Linked DNA regions of Homo sapiens: region 2 is linked to region 1. The links are contacts of gene promoters, found by promoter capture Hi-C in human tissues and cell types (Jung and others, 2019). All regions are on one chromosome and are shown on one strand. Each heading gives the region's core, a stretch centred on a gene start or on the middle of the fragment in contact. The rest is flanking DNA. Distances are from core to core; before and after follow the strand shown.

Region 1 (6,903 bases), core at 2,341-4,840:
CTACGAACAACTGTATGCCAACAGATTGCATAAGCTAGATGAAATTGTCAAATTCCTACACAACCTACCAAGACTGAATCATGAAGAAGTAAAACATATGAATAGACCTATAACTAGCAAAGATATTGAATCAGTAACCAAAAACCTCCCAACAAAGAAAAGCCCAGGACCAGTTGGCTTCACTGGAAAATTCCACCAAACATTGAAAGAAGTACTAACACCAGTTCTTTTCAAACTCTTCCAAATAATTAAAGAAGAGGGAATACTTTCTGATTCATTCCATGAGGCCAAAGTCAGATAAAAACACTTGGAGAGAAGAAAACTACAGACCAATATGCCATATGAACATGGATGCAAAAATCAACAAAATACTAGCAAACACAATTCAACAGCACACTAAAAGTATTATACACCATGATCAAGTGGGATTTATTCCTGGAATGCAAGATGGTTCAATATATGAAAATCAATTAATGTAACACAGCATATTCTCAGAATGAAGGGGAAAAATCACATGATCATCTTAACAGATGCAGAAAATGCATTTGACAAAATTCAGTACTCTTCCCTGATAAAATCACACAACAAACTAGAAGGAAAGTGCCCCAACATAATAAACACCATATATGAAAAGTTGATAGCTAACATTGTGTTCAGTGATGAAAAGACTGAAAGCTTTTCCTCTAAGATCAGGAATAAGACTAGGATGCCCACTCTCATGCTTCTACTAACATGGTATTGGAAATCATCGCGAGAACAGTTAGGCAAGAAAAAGAAATAAGAGGCATATGAAATAGAAAGGAAGAAGTAAAATTATCTCTGTTAACAAATGATATGATCTTATTTGTAGAAAACCCTAAAGATTACCCCTCACACATACAAAACACAGAACTAATTAAGGGACTTAGCAATGTTACAGGATATGAATCAACACACAAAAATCAGTTGCATTTTATACACCAACAATGAACAATTCTGAAAAGGAAACTAAGAAAACAATTCCATTACAATGGCATAGAAAAAATTAAAATACTTAGGAATAGACTTCAAGAAGGAAGCTAAAGACTTGTACACTGAAAACTACAAAGCACTGCTGAAAGAAATTGAAGAAGAGACAAATAAATGGAAAGATATTCCATGTTTATGGATTAGAAGACAATATTAAGAGTCAGTACTTCCCACAGTGATCTACAGATTTAAAGCAATCCTTTTCAAAGTCCCAATGTTTCTTTACAAAAATAGAACAATCAATCCTAAAATTCATAGGGAATTTCAAGGGACACTGAATAGCCAAAACAATCTTGAAAAAGAATAGCAAAGTTGAAAGCCTGACATTTCCTCATTTCAAACCTTACTTCAAACCTACAGTAATCAAAACAGTGCAGCACTGGTTTCAAGAAAGACATATAAGCCAATGGAATAGAATAGAGATCCCAGAAGAAACCCTTGTGTATATGGTCATATGATTTTCAGCAAGAATGCCAAAACCATTCAATGGGGAAAGGACGGTCTTTTCAACAAATAGTGCTGGGAAAATTATATATCCACATGCAAAAGAATGAAGTTGGACCCTTAACTTACACATATACAAAAGTTAACTCAAAATGGATCAAAGATCTAAACATAAGAGCTGAAACTATAAAACTCTTCAGTGAAAACAGAGGAAAAGCTTCATGACACTGGATTTCTCAATGATTTCTTGAATATTACGCCAAAAGCACAGGCAGCCAAAGAAAAATAGATAAATATGACCACATACAAATTTTAAACTTTTGTGCATCAAAGGACACTAACAACAGAGTGGAAAGGTAACCTACAGAATGAAAGAAAATATTTACAAATTATATATCTGATAAGGGATTAATATCTAGAATATTTAAAGAACTCCTGCAACTCAACAACAAGAAACCCAACAAATAACCAGATTTTAAAATGGCCAAAAGATTTAAATAGACATTTTTCCAAAGATCTTCTTTGGTCAGTAAGTATTAATACATTAAAAGATGCTCAACATCATTAATCATTAGGGTAATGCAAATCAAAACTACAATGTTATACCACTTTACAGCCATTAGGATGGCTATTATTAGAAAACAAAACAAAAGAGAAAATAACAAGTGTTTGCAAGCATATGGAGTAATTGGAACTCTTGTGTATTGCTGGTGGGGATGTAAGTGGTACAGTCAATAAGGAAAAGCGTATGGTAGTTCCTTAAAAAGATAAAAATAGAATTATCATATGATTCAGCAATTCCACTTCTTGGTATATACCCAAAAGAATTGAAAGCAAAGACTCAAACAAATATTTGTATACCCATGTTCATAGCAGCATTATTCCCAATAGCCAAAAGGGCAACCCAAGTATTCACCAATGGGATAATGGAAAAACAAAATGAGTATATTAATGCAATACAATATTATTCATCATTAGAAAGGAAGGGAATTCTGACACATGATACAACATGGATGAATCTTGAAGAAATTATGCTCATTGAAATAAGCAAGTCACAAAAGAACAAATACTGTATGATTCCACTTATATAAGGCATGCAGAGTAGTCAAATCATAGAGCTAGAAAATAGAGAGATGGTTACCAGGGGTGGGGGAAGGGGAGAATGGGAGTTATTCTTTAATGGGTACAGTTTCAGTTTTGCCAGATGAAAAAAGTTCTGAAGATAGCTGGTGGTGATGGTTTCACAATGCAAATATACTTAATGCCACTGAACTCTATACTTAAAAATGGTTAAAATAGTATATTTTATGGCATGTGTATTTTATCACAATTTTAAAACATTTAACATTTTTATAATGAAAAAGGAATAAATGAAAGAGTCTGTACTGTCTGATTTAATTTATTTAAGGTGCAAAAATAAATCTATGGTGTTAGATGTCAGGACAGTGGTTATCCTTGGAAGACGGAAGTAACTAGAAAGAAGTATGAAGAGGCCTCTGAGATGTGTGCAGTCTGTGAAATTCTTTGAGCTATCCATTTGTGATTTATATGATACATTTTTTACATGAATGTTACATTTCAAAAAAGATTTTAGCAATGTCGATCACAGACACCACAGCAGCCCTATGGAATCAGAATCTCTGGGAGTGGAAATTCAGGACCTTGCATTTTAAAAATCTCCCTTCTAAATTTTTCTTAAGACTACTGGATTTTGAGAATCTTTGCTAAAGGAAGAGGATTAAATATTCTTCCAATGCCCAAGATTTCTTCAATTCTATTCTAACAATAAATATTTCTTAGAGAATAAATTTTTGATTTCCTTGCATCATTTACCTTTTTCCTGTTAGGAAAATGCACATCATTTTTTAGGTGCTGAGACAGAGGACTAAGAAATCAATGACATAAAAATGCATACTTTAATATTTTTTCTTTAAAACTATTATCCTAAGGTGTCCTACATACTATAATTTATAAGTATCTGGAAGAGTGAAAACAATTTTATTGAGGCCTTGTAAAATATGGCAGGTGCTAGGACCTCATGGAACTCAGGTATCTTCAGTAGGATGTGAAACATCACATCATGGGGCGTGGTGCAGTGTAAGCAGGTAAAGAAAAGCCAGTTCTTCCACATGTAAACTACTTGAACTCCATTTCATCTTTTTTCATACCATCTCTAAGATTGCTGCCGCATTTGCTTGTTAAACTGAAAGCATGTTTCTTGCAAAGGCTCTATTGGAAGGAGCAGATCGAGGTCTTGGAGAAGCTCTTGGAGGCCTCTTTGGAGGAGGTGGTCAGAGAAGAGAAGGAGGAGGAAGAAATATTGGAGGGATAGTTGGAGGAATTGTGAATTTTATCAGTGAGGCTGCAGCAGCTCAGTATACTCCAGAACCGCCTCCCACTCAGCAGCATTTCACCAGTGTGGAGGCCTCAGAAAGTGAGGAAGTTAGGCGATTTCGGCAACAATTTACACAGCTGGCTGGACCAGACATGGAGGTGGGTGCCACTGATCTGATGAATATTCTCAACAAAGTCCTTTCTAAGCACAAAGATCTTAAGACTGACGGTTTTAGTCTTGACACCTGCCGGAGCATTGTGTCTGTCATGGACAGTGACACGACTGGTAAGCTGGGCTTTGAAGAATTTAAGTATCTGTGGAACAACATCAAGAAATGGCAGTGTGTTTATAAGCAGTATGACAGGGACCATTCTGGGTCTCTGGGAAGTTCTCAGCTGCGGGGAGCTCTGCAGGCCGCAGGCTTCCAGCTAAATGAACAACTTTACCAAATGATTGTCCGCCGGTATGCTAATGAAGATGGAGATATGGATTTTAACAATTTCATCAGCTGCTTGGTCCGCCTGGATGCCATGTTTCGTGCCTTCAAGTCTCTGGATAGAGATAGAGATGGCCTGATTCAAGTGTCTATCAAAGAATGGCTGCAGTTGACCATGTATTCCTGAAGTGGGAACTGAGAAGTCAAGATCCTCCCTGGAGGACAGGACTGAAAACCTTGCCAAGCTGTACACAGTTGCTGATACCCTGTGCAACAGCTCTCATTTCCTGGCAAGCTCTTTCACAACCCTACATATTTCTGATCATGTGCTGCCTTTTACTGCTGAATTAAAACAGATATTTCACGAAAAATGTTCTGAGTGGTTTGTATATCAGCTTTTTGAGATTTGGATTTATATGGACTTGCATATATATGGTGGGGAGGTTGTGGGGTAGAGTTCTAATGGAGTAGATTTTAAAAGGTGTTGCTTATTTAGTGAATAAATTCCAAGGAGTAGGAACTTTATTATTGTTGTTATTGTTGTTAAGAATGAATTTTTTTAATCCTAGAATAAATCAAGAAAGCCCTCAGGAGATACATTTTCCATTTTAAAAAGTTGAGGAGAGAGGTTCAAAATCTGTTTTTCTTGTAATTTTATACCTGGTTTTCCCATTATGTAAAAAAATGAAAAGTGCTTTTTAGGAAACTTATTTAACCATAAAGAAACAGGTTCAGACAATGAAATTAAGCAGTTTTATATAAGGGTAGCATTTTTTTAAATGATGGAGCTACTATCTAAAATTCTAAAGTTCTTTAATTCTGTTTCTTTAGTAAAAAAAAGCACTAGCAATTTTGTTTTGATACATTTGTAAAGAGAGTCAAAGACATTGAGGAATAAAACAATATGCTCATAGTTCAAAAATGTCTCTAGCTGCCTTAATGAATCAAAATGTTTGCTCTTACACGTACTTCATACAAAATCAGGCATGCCCTGTTGACGTTAGCCAGCTCTTGTCGTGTCTTGTCCTGCCTTAGAGCAAGGAAAATTCTTTTGTTCATCTTTGAAAACTACAGGCAGGAAATAAGCAGCAAACAAAGAAAAACAAAAAAAGAAAAACACATGAACAGTAATCAGTTAAATGGAATGTAAACCAATATAGAGAACACATATTGCTGACTATTGCAATTATTCTCAGCCCTGGCTGCAATTTGGAATCACTGGGAGAGCTCTTTAGGAATACTAATACTTGAGTCTCCAAATATGTTAAATAAGACTTTTTAGAGGTGGGGCCCAGAGATGAATATGTTTAAAGCTCCCCAAGTGATTCTAATGATCAGCCAAGGTTGACAGCCTTGATTGCTTTGAAGTAGGGCCACCTCACAGTATTTTTCAAGCCTGTCTCAGCCAAAACTAAGGCCATGCAGGAGAGTCAGTGTTGCCAGCATTCAGGAGAAGGAAGATAGAAATACCAAGAAAATGCCACCCAAAAGCTGGGGTAGTTGTGCCTTTCTTGCGTACAGACCTTGGTTTGGCTTTATAATTTTGATAATAGGCTAATATAGCAGAGCAAACAGAATCCAGGATTCCGGTGCCAGTAGACACAGCTAGAGAGGCTACATTTGCAAGTGCTTGGTTCCTCTGTCTGCTATTTAATTGGTCTCTACCCATTCTGCTTCTCTGATTTTTAATGCATTGTCTCTATCCCAGGCTACTTTGGAGGGTCATCCCGAGTTTGCAGATAAATTCTTCCTTCCTCTTTGGACTCATTTAGAAGAAAGTTGTAACTATGGAAATGATGTAACTAGCCTGTTAACATCCCTCAGCTTCCTGTTAGAAATCCCCAGTGAAATGTGGAGAGGTTGGCTTTTGACCTTTGTGTTCACCATCATCACCATCATACAATATTTATGAAACACCACACACATATAATTCTGAACTGAGCCAAGCACAGAGATCACATCCACTTTCCTCAAGGGACTTGTAATTTAACCTTGGTCTGGTGTGCTACTTAGACCAGGTGTGGTTACATAAGAAGGAGGCTGCTGCCAGCAACCACACATTAATAACAATCTCTCTATTTTAGAATAAGTCCAGGAATATGTTAGGCATGGATGTAGTAAAGTAGCCAAGAAAGGGGAAAGCTGCCAGACATCTTTTAAATTCTCAGAATATTAGGTTTATAATTTAACCTTTCCATAGGATGGTTGTGGAAAGAACAATGTAACCACATTTTTGTTCCTCACTTTATTGTAAATGTTTCATAAAAGTTAAAACAATCATCTCACACTAGGAGTGGTATTATTGCCCTTGCTTCTCAAGTTGAGGGATTACCTACTTTTACAATTCTCTTCCAGCATGCTCATGGAAAAACACCCTGAAATTACCTAAGTTTCTCTCCTTTTCTCTTCTGAATTTGTATAAGTAACCTCAGACATCAGAGTGGATACTAGAACTAAAAAATCTGGACTTTTTCCAAGTAACCAAATATTTAGCATTGTGTAGAACCAATAGCCTAGCAAGTGATTGAATTTCTTAGTTTTCATTCAATATTTGATGTTTTAAAGGCACATTTTTAATGTTAGAAGCAATATTTAACTTGACACCTTTTTAAAAATTTGCCTGCTCTATATGCAAGACTATTTATAGCCTAAGATTTATATAATTCATATAACTCCATGC
Region 2 (6,903 bases), core at 1,956-4,455, 53 kb after region 1:
CAGGGTGAATGGAACTAAGTTGAAAAACACTCTTCAGGATATTATCCAGGAGAACTTCCCCAACCCAGAAAGGCAGGCCAACATTCAAATTCAGGAAATACAGAGAACACCACAAAGATATTCCTCGAGAAGAGCAACCCCAAGACACATAATTGTCAGATTCACCAAGGTTGAAATGAAGGAAAAAATGTTAAGGACAGCCAGAGAGAAAGGTCAGGTTACCCACAAAGAGAAGCCCATCAGACTAACAGCGGATTTCTTGGCAGAAACTCTATAAGCCAGAAGAGAGTGGGGGCCAATATTCAACATTCTTAAAGAAAATAATTTTCAACCTAGAATTTCATATCCAGCCAAACTAAGCCTCATGAATGAAGGAGAAATAAAATGCCTTACAGACAAGCAAATGCTGAGAGATTTTGTCACCACCAGACCTGCCTTACAAGAGCTCCTGAAGGAAGCACTAAACATGAAAAGGAATGACCGGTATCAGCCACTGCAAAAACATGCCAAATTGTAAAGACCATCGATACTAGGAAGAAACTGCATGAACTAATGAGCAAAATAACCAGCTAATATCATAATGACAGGATCAAATTCACAAATAACAATATTAACCTTAAATGTAAATGGGCTAAATGCTCCAATTAAAAGACACAGACTGGCAAATTGGATAAAGAGTCAACACCCATCAGTGTGCTGTATTCAGGAGACCCATCTCACATGCAGAGACACACATAGGCTCAAAATAAAGGGATGGAGGAATATCTACCAAGCAAATGGGAAACAAAAAAGAAGCATGGGTTGCAATCCTAGTCTCTGATAAAACAGACTTTAAACCAACAAAGATCAAAAGAGACAAAGAAGGCCATTACATAATGGTAAAGGGATCAATTCAACAAGAAGAGCTAACTATCCTAAATATATATGCACCCAATACAGGAGCACCTAGATTCATAAGGCAAGTCCTTAGAGACCTACAACAAGACTTAGACTCCCACACAATAATAATGGGAGACTTTAACACCCCACTGTCAATATTAGACAGATCAATGAGACAGAAAGTTAACAAGGATATCCAGGACTTGAACTCAGCTCTGCACCAAGCGGACCCAATAGACATCTACAGAACTCTCCACCCCAAATCAACAGAATATACATTCTTCTCAGCATCACATTGCACTTATTCCAAAATTGACCACATAGTTGGAAGTAAAACACTCCTCAGCAAATGTAAAAGAACAGAAATCACAACAAACTGTCTCTCAGAACACAGTGCGATCAAATTAGAACTCAGGATTAAGAAACTCACTCAAAACCACACAACTACATGGAAACTGAACAACCTGCTCCTGAATGACTACTGGGTAAATAATAAAATGAAGGCAGAAATAAAGATGTTCTTTGAAACCAATGAGAACAAAGACACAATATATCAGAATCTCTGGGACACATTTAAAGCAGTGTGTAGAGGGAAATTTATAGCACTAAATGCCCACAGGAGAAAGCAGGAAAGATCTAAAATCGACACCCTAACATCACAATTAAAAGAACTAGAGAAGCAAGAGCAAACACATTCAAAAGCTAGCAGAAGGCAAGAAATAACTAAGATCAGAGCAGAACTGAAGGAGTTAGAGACACAAAAAAACCTTCAAAAAATCAATGAATCTAGGAGCTGGTTTTTTTGAAAAGATCAACAAAATTGATAGACCACTAGCAAGACTAATAAAGAAGAAAACAGAAGAATCAAATAGACGCAATAAAAAATGATAAAGGGGATATCACCATCGATCCCACAGAAATACAAACTACCATCAGAGAATACTATAAACACCTCTATGCAAATAAACCAGAAAATCTAGAAGAAATGGATAAATTCCTCAACACATACACCCTTCCAAGACTAAACCTAGAAGAAGCTGAATCTCTGAATAGACCAATAACAGGAGCTGAAATTGAGGCAATAATTGATAGCCTAGCAACCAAAAAAAGTCCAGGACCAGACAGATTCAAAGCAGAATTCTACCAGAGGTACAAAGAGCAGCTGGTACCATTCCTTCTGAAACTATTCCAATCAATAGAAAAAGAGGGAATCCTCCCTAACTCATTTTATGAGGCCAGCATCATCCTGAGACCAAAGCATGGCAGAGACACAACAAAAAAAGAGAATTTTAGACCAATATCCCTGATGAACATTGATGCGAAAATCCTCAATAAAATACCGACAAATCGAATCCAGAAGCAATCAAAAAGCTTATCCACCACAATCAAGTTGGCTTCATCCCTGGGATGCAAGGCTGGTTGAACATATGCAAATCAATAAATGTAATCCATCACATAAACAGAACCAAAGACAAAAACCACATGATTATCTCAATAGATGCAGAGACGGGCTTCAACAAAATTCAACAGCCTTTAATGCTAAAAATTCTCAATAAATTAGGTATTGATGGGACATATCTCAAAATAATAAGAGCTGTTTATGACAAACCCACAGCCAATATCATACTGAATGGGCAAACACTAGAAGCATTCCCTTTGAAAACTAGCACAAGACAGGGATGCCCTCTCTTGCCACTCCTATTCAACACAGTGTTGGAAGTTCGGCCCGGGCAATCAGGCAGGAGAAAGAAATAAAGGGTATTCAATTAGGAAAACAGGAAGTCAAATTGTCCCTTTTTGCAGATGACATGATTGTATATTTAGAAAACCCCATTGTCTCAACCCCAAATCTCCTTAAGCTGATAAGCAACTTCAGCAAAGCCTGAGGATACAAAATCAATGAGCAAAAATCGCAAGCATTCCTATACACCAACAACAGACAAACAGAGAGCCAAATCATGAGTGAACTCCCATTCACAATTGCTTCAAAGAGAATAAAATACCTAGGAATCCAACTTACAAGGGATGTGAAGGACCTCTTCAGGGAGAACTACAAACCACTGCTCAATGAAGTAAAAGAGGACACAAACAAATAGAAGAACATTCCATGCTCATGGATAGGAAGAATCAATATCGTGAAAATGGCCATACTGCCCAAGATAATTTATAGATTCAATACCATCCCCATCAAGCTAACAATGACTTTCTTCACAGAATTGGAAAAAACTACTTTAAAGTTCATATGGAACCAAAAAAGAGCCCGCATTGCCAAGACAATCCTAAGCAAAAATAACAAATCTGGAGGCACCACACTACCTGACTTCAAACTATACTACAAGGCTACAGTAACCAATACAGCATGGTACTGGTACTAAAACATTATGGTTTTGATTCACATTTCTCTGATGACCAGTGATGATGATTATTTTTTCACGTGTCTGTTGGCTGCATAAATGTCTTCTTTTGAGAAGTGTCTGTTCATATCCTTTGCCCACTTTTTGATGGGGTTGTTTGATTTTTTCTTGTAAATTTGCTTAAGTTCTTTGTAGATTCTGGATGTTAGCCCTTTGTTAGACGGGTAGATTGCAAAAATTTTCTCCCATTCTGTAGGTTGCCTGTTCACCCTGATGGTAGTTTCTTTTGCTGTGCAGAAGCTCTTTCGTTTAATTAGATCCCGTTTGTCTATTTTGGCTTTTGTTGCCATTGCTTTTGGTGTTTTAGTCATGAAGTCCATGCCCATGCCTATGTCCTGGATGGTATTGCCTAGGTTTTCTTCTAGGGTTTTTATAGTTTTAGGTCTAACATTTAAGTCTTTAATCCATCTTGAATTAATTTTTGTGTAAGGTGTAAGGAAGGGATGCTGTTTCATCAGTGACAGACTGGATTAAGAAAATGTGGCATGTGTACACCATGGAATACTATGCAGCCATAAAAAGGATGAGTTCTTGTCCTTTGTAGGGACATGGATGAGGCTGGAAACCATCATTCTGAGCAAACTATCGCAAGGACAGAAAACCAAACACTGCATGTTCTCACTCATAGGTGGGAATTGAACAATGAGAACACTTGGACACAGGGCGGGGAACATCACACACTGGGGCCTGTGGTGGGGTAGGGGGAGGGGGGAGGGACAGCATTAAGAGAAATACCTAATGTAAATGACGAGTTAATGGGTCCAGCACACCAACATGGCACATGTTTACATATGTAACAAACCTGCATGTTGTACACATGTACCCTAGGACTTAAAGTATAATAAAATTAATAAATAAATTAATTAATTTTTAAAATCTCCAAAAAAGGACTCTAAAAAAATGTATTACTAAATACTTTTTGAAGTATTTTAAGGGTTTTAAAATACTTTAAAAAAGTATTTTAAAGGTTACTAAAACTAGTAACCATCATTTTGTTAATATCAAATATCCAATGTTCAAAATCTCATAAATGTCATTGTTGATTTTTATGGATATTTTATATGAATCAGGCTCAAAATAAAGACCACTTATTGCTATTGGCAAAAACAAAAACCACAAAACAACAGAAGGAAAAGACCCCCTCCTCCTCTCTATAGCCAAAAGTGGAAAAATGAAGCAAGAAAGTCTTCTGTGTTAATTAAGAAGATGACGCTAGAAAACATCTAGTTTTAGTATTTCTTCTATCCGTGAGATTCTGTGTTTCTCAGAGTTACTTCCTCGTAGGCAGCTGCAGGCATTTTTGGCTGTGGCATGCATTTCTGCCACGTAGAAAGATAAAGCATATGTGTCTGATGAAGAAAATTCAAGTGGGTTCATTGATAATTTGGGAAGCTGGAGTTAGGAGAAGGCTAGAACCCCTTCTAGGGTGGTTGCTTGAATTGGCATTACTGAATTTTAATTCACTTCTCTATAGTAGAAGTTTCCCCTAAATGTATTTTATTCACATACACTCACAAAGTTTTATTCAGTGGAGAAACATTTGTAATATAAACCTGCAAATTTTTCTAGATTTCTTAGAGTCAGTCATCTGCTTGTCAGCATTTCAGGCTAGAAGGCACTACAAATTAACCTGAGATAACTGAAGCAAAATCTCTGTGCTTGGCATAATTGTTAGGAAAAATCAATTTCTTTTGAAAGGTAAACACAGGCCCTGTGAACAGCTGATGGGCCAGCTGAAGTCACTTTTCACTGGATTTGTGATAACTTTCAGATTCATAGGCTAGAAGAAAGCTCAAAGAAAATGGATGGAAAGGTTGGGAAGGCTAAAATAAATTCCTGGTATAGCTAATTTCTATAAAAACAAGTGTTTTTCAGTAAATAGATTCAATCTGCAACAAAATGAGACATTGGTTTGCTAATTTCTTACTGTATCATACTGCAATGGTTTGATCTTTACAAATTGCATTTCCTTTTCATCCACATCCAGCTACATTTGTAGGCCTCACCTTACCTATCCACCCCTGCTGTGATATTTTTGGACTAAGAAGTAACCACCTACTCTCAATCTGAAAGTTTCTTGGTGAAGAAAAACAAAACACAGAAATCCTAAAAGAGAAGTGCCATCACTTTCCCAATGGCAGTTGGACTCACTGTTTAAGTAATATGTAAATGGAAACCGAAACTGTGGGGATGCTGCCTTTAAAACTGCCCAAGAGTGCCCCTTTCCCCATCACTAGCCCACAATGCCTGCATCATGCACATTATGAAGAAGTATGGCAAATGGAGAACAGCTGTGGGAAGATATAAACATAATCCACAAATGGCTCAGAAGAGAAGGTACCAGACAATTGGTCCTGTGATATGTTCTACGGTGCCGATTCTCAGAGGACATTTTTAGAGAATGATTTTGCTTTCTAGCTTGGGCTCACTCATAACAGCCATAAATATACCCAAACTTTGTCTTCATTCAGTCATTGATTCAGTAGATTATTGGAATCATGAGGCCAAAAAGTTTTGTTTTGTTTCATTTTAGTTCTTTAATGGTTCTCAAAGTAGCATCATAAAGAAGCTGCTTTTTTGGACCCTAGCAATGTCTGGAAGAAGCAGTAGCTCTCTTTGACAAATGAAGGAGCTGAGGCCCTGTGAGACAGAACAACTGCTTGGAGTCAACTCTGAAGACAGACAGAGGTCCCCCAGCTCTGAGGACACAGCTGTCCTTGGATTCCAAGATCCCTAACTTGTCGGCCAGCTCTGATTCCTACACACCGCTACTGAGCCACTTAAGTCTCTCTCAGCCTCAGTTTCCAGATCATTGCTTTGTCTACCACACAGGGCCTGAGAGAGATCAGATGAAATTAGATGAGAGAGGGCTCTGGACACTGGTGAAGCCACACATGGGTAAAATGACCTTGAAGGGAGCCCCACGTGCTCACAGGGTGGCCCTTGAGCCACATCAAAGGCTTGCACTTCCTGAGTCATTGTTTGTGTGTTTATGGATGAGTTCCTGTAGCGGTCACCCAGCCCCAGTGCCCTGATAGCTCTGAAGCATGCGCTCCAGGGTGGGGCCAGCATCACGAGACACCGAGGGGAGATGGGAGGGTTGTGGGGGTGGGAGGAAAAGCCTTGTTTACTCCCAGAGAGCTTGCCTGCCAGGCTTGGGGCCAGGATATCTATGCACCTTAGGTCAGGTGTTGCACCCAGAAAAGGCTGCAGAGGGCAGCACCTCGGGAAGAAATCCAGGCACTTGCCTTCTAGCCTAACCCTTCCCCATTCCCATTCCACACCTTCACTGTGCTTCAGCTGTTCTTCTTCTAAGTGAGCCTGTAATGCAGAGAAAAGAGCACCGATAGGTTCTAGTCCCTGTGTTTATCCACTGACTTACTGTCATGTCCCTTACCTTCCCTGGGACTCAGTTTCCTCATCTGCAAAATTGGGATACTACTTCATCTATATACTGCCACTGAAATTTTGTGAGGGTCAGTTCAGACCAAACTCATGTATGTGTATCTCTCTGTGTGTGCATGACTGTGCATGCAAGTGCACAGGTGAGAGACAAACAGAGACAGAAAGAAACTGAGAGAATGAGAGTGAGAGAGGCCAGGCACAGTGG

The links. Contacts are between HindIII fragments. The study calls those that stand out against the background at their distance.
Region 2: a fragment that was not itself captured here is called in contact with the fragment with the promoter of CAPNS2 in region 1 in 1 of the 25 tissues and cell types used here (bladder).

Annotation. Positions count from the first base shown.
Region 1 is chr16:55,563,094-55,569,996 of GRCh38, forward strand. It overlaps CAPNS2 (calpain small subunit 2), which reads left to right and starts at 3,591. Exons shown (of 1, transcript NM_032330.3): 1 at 3,591-4,594. The coding sequence starts at 3,664. The coding sequence ends at 4,410. All of the region lies in intron 11 of LPCAT2 (lysophosphatidylcholine acyltransferase 2), which reads left to right. The HindIII fragment of the contact is 10,931 bases long and covers 1,173-6,903 here.
Region 2 is chr16:55,616,972-55,623,874 of GRCh38, forward strand. No RefSeq gene overlaps it. Among named protein-coding and RNA genes, the nearest start is that of SLC6A2, 36 kb to the right of the region's middle. The HindIII fragment of the contact is 4,342 bases long and covers 1,035-5,376 here.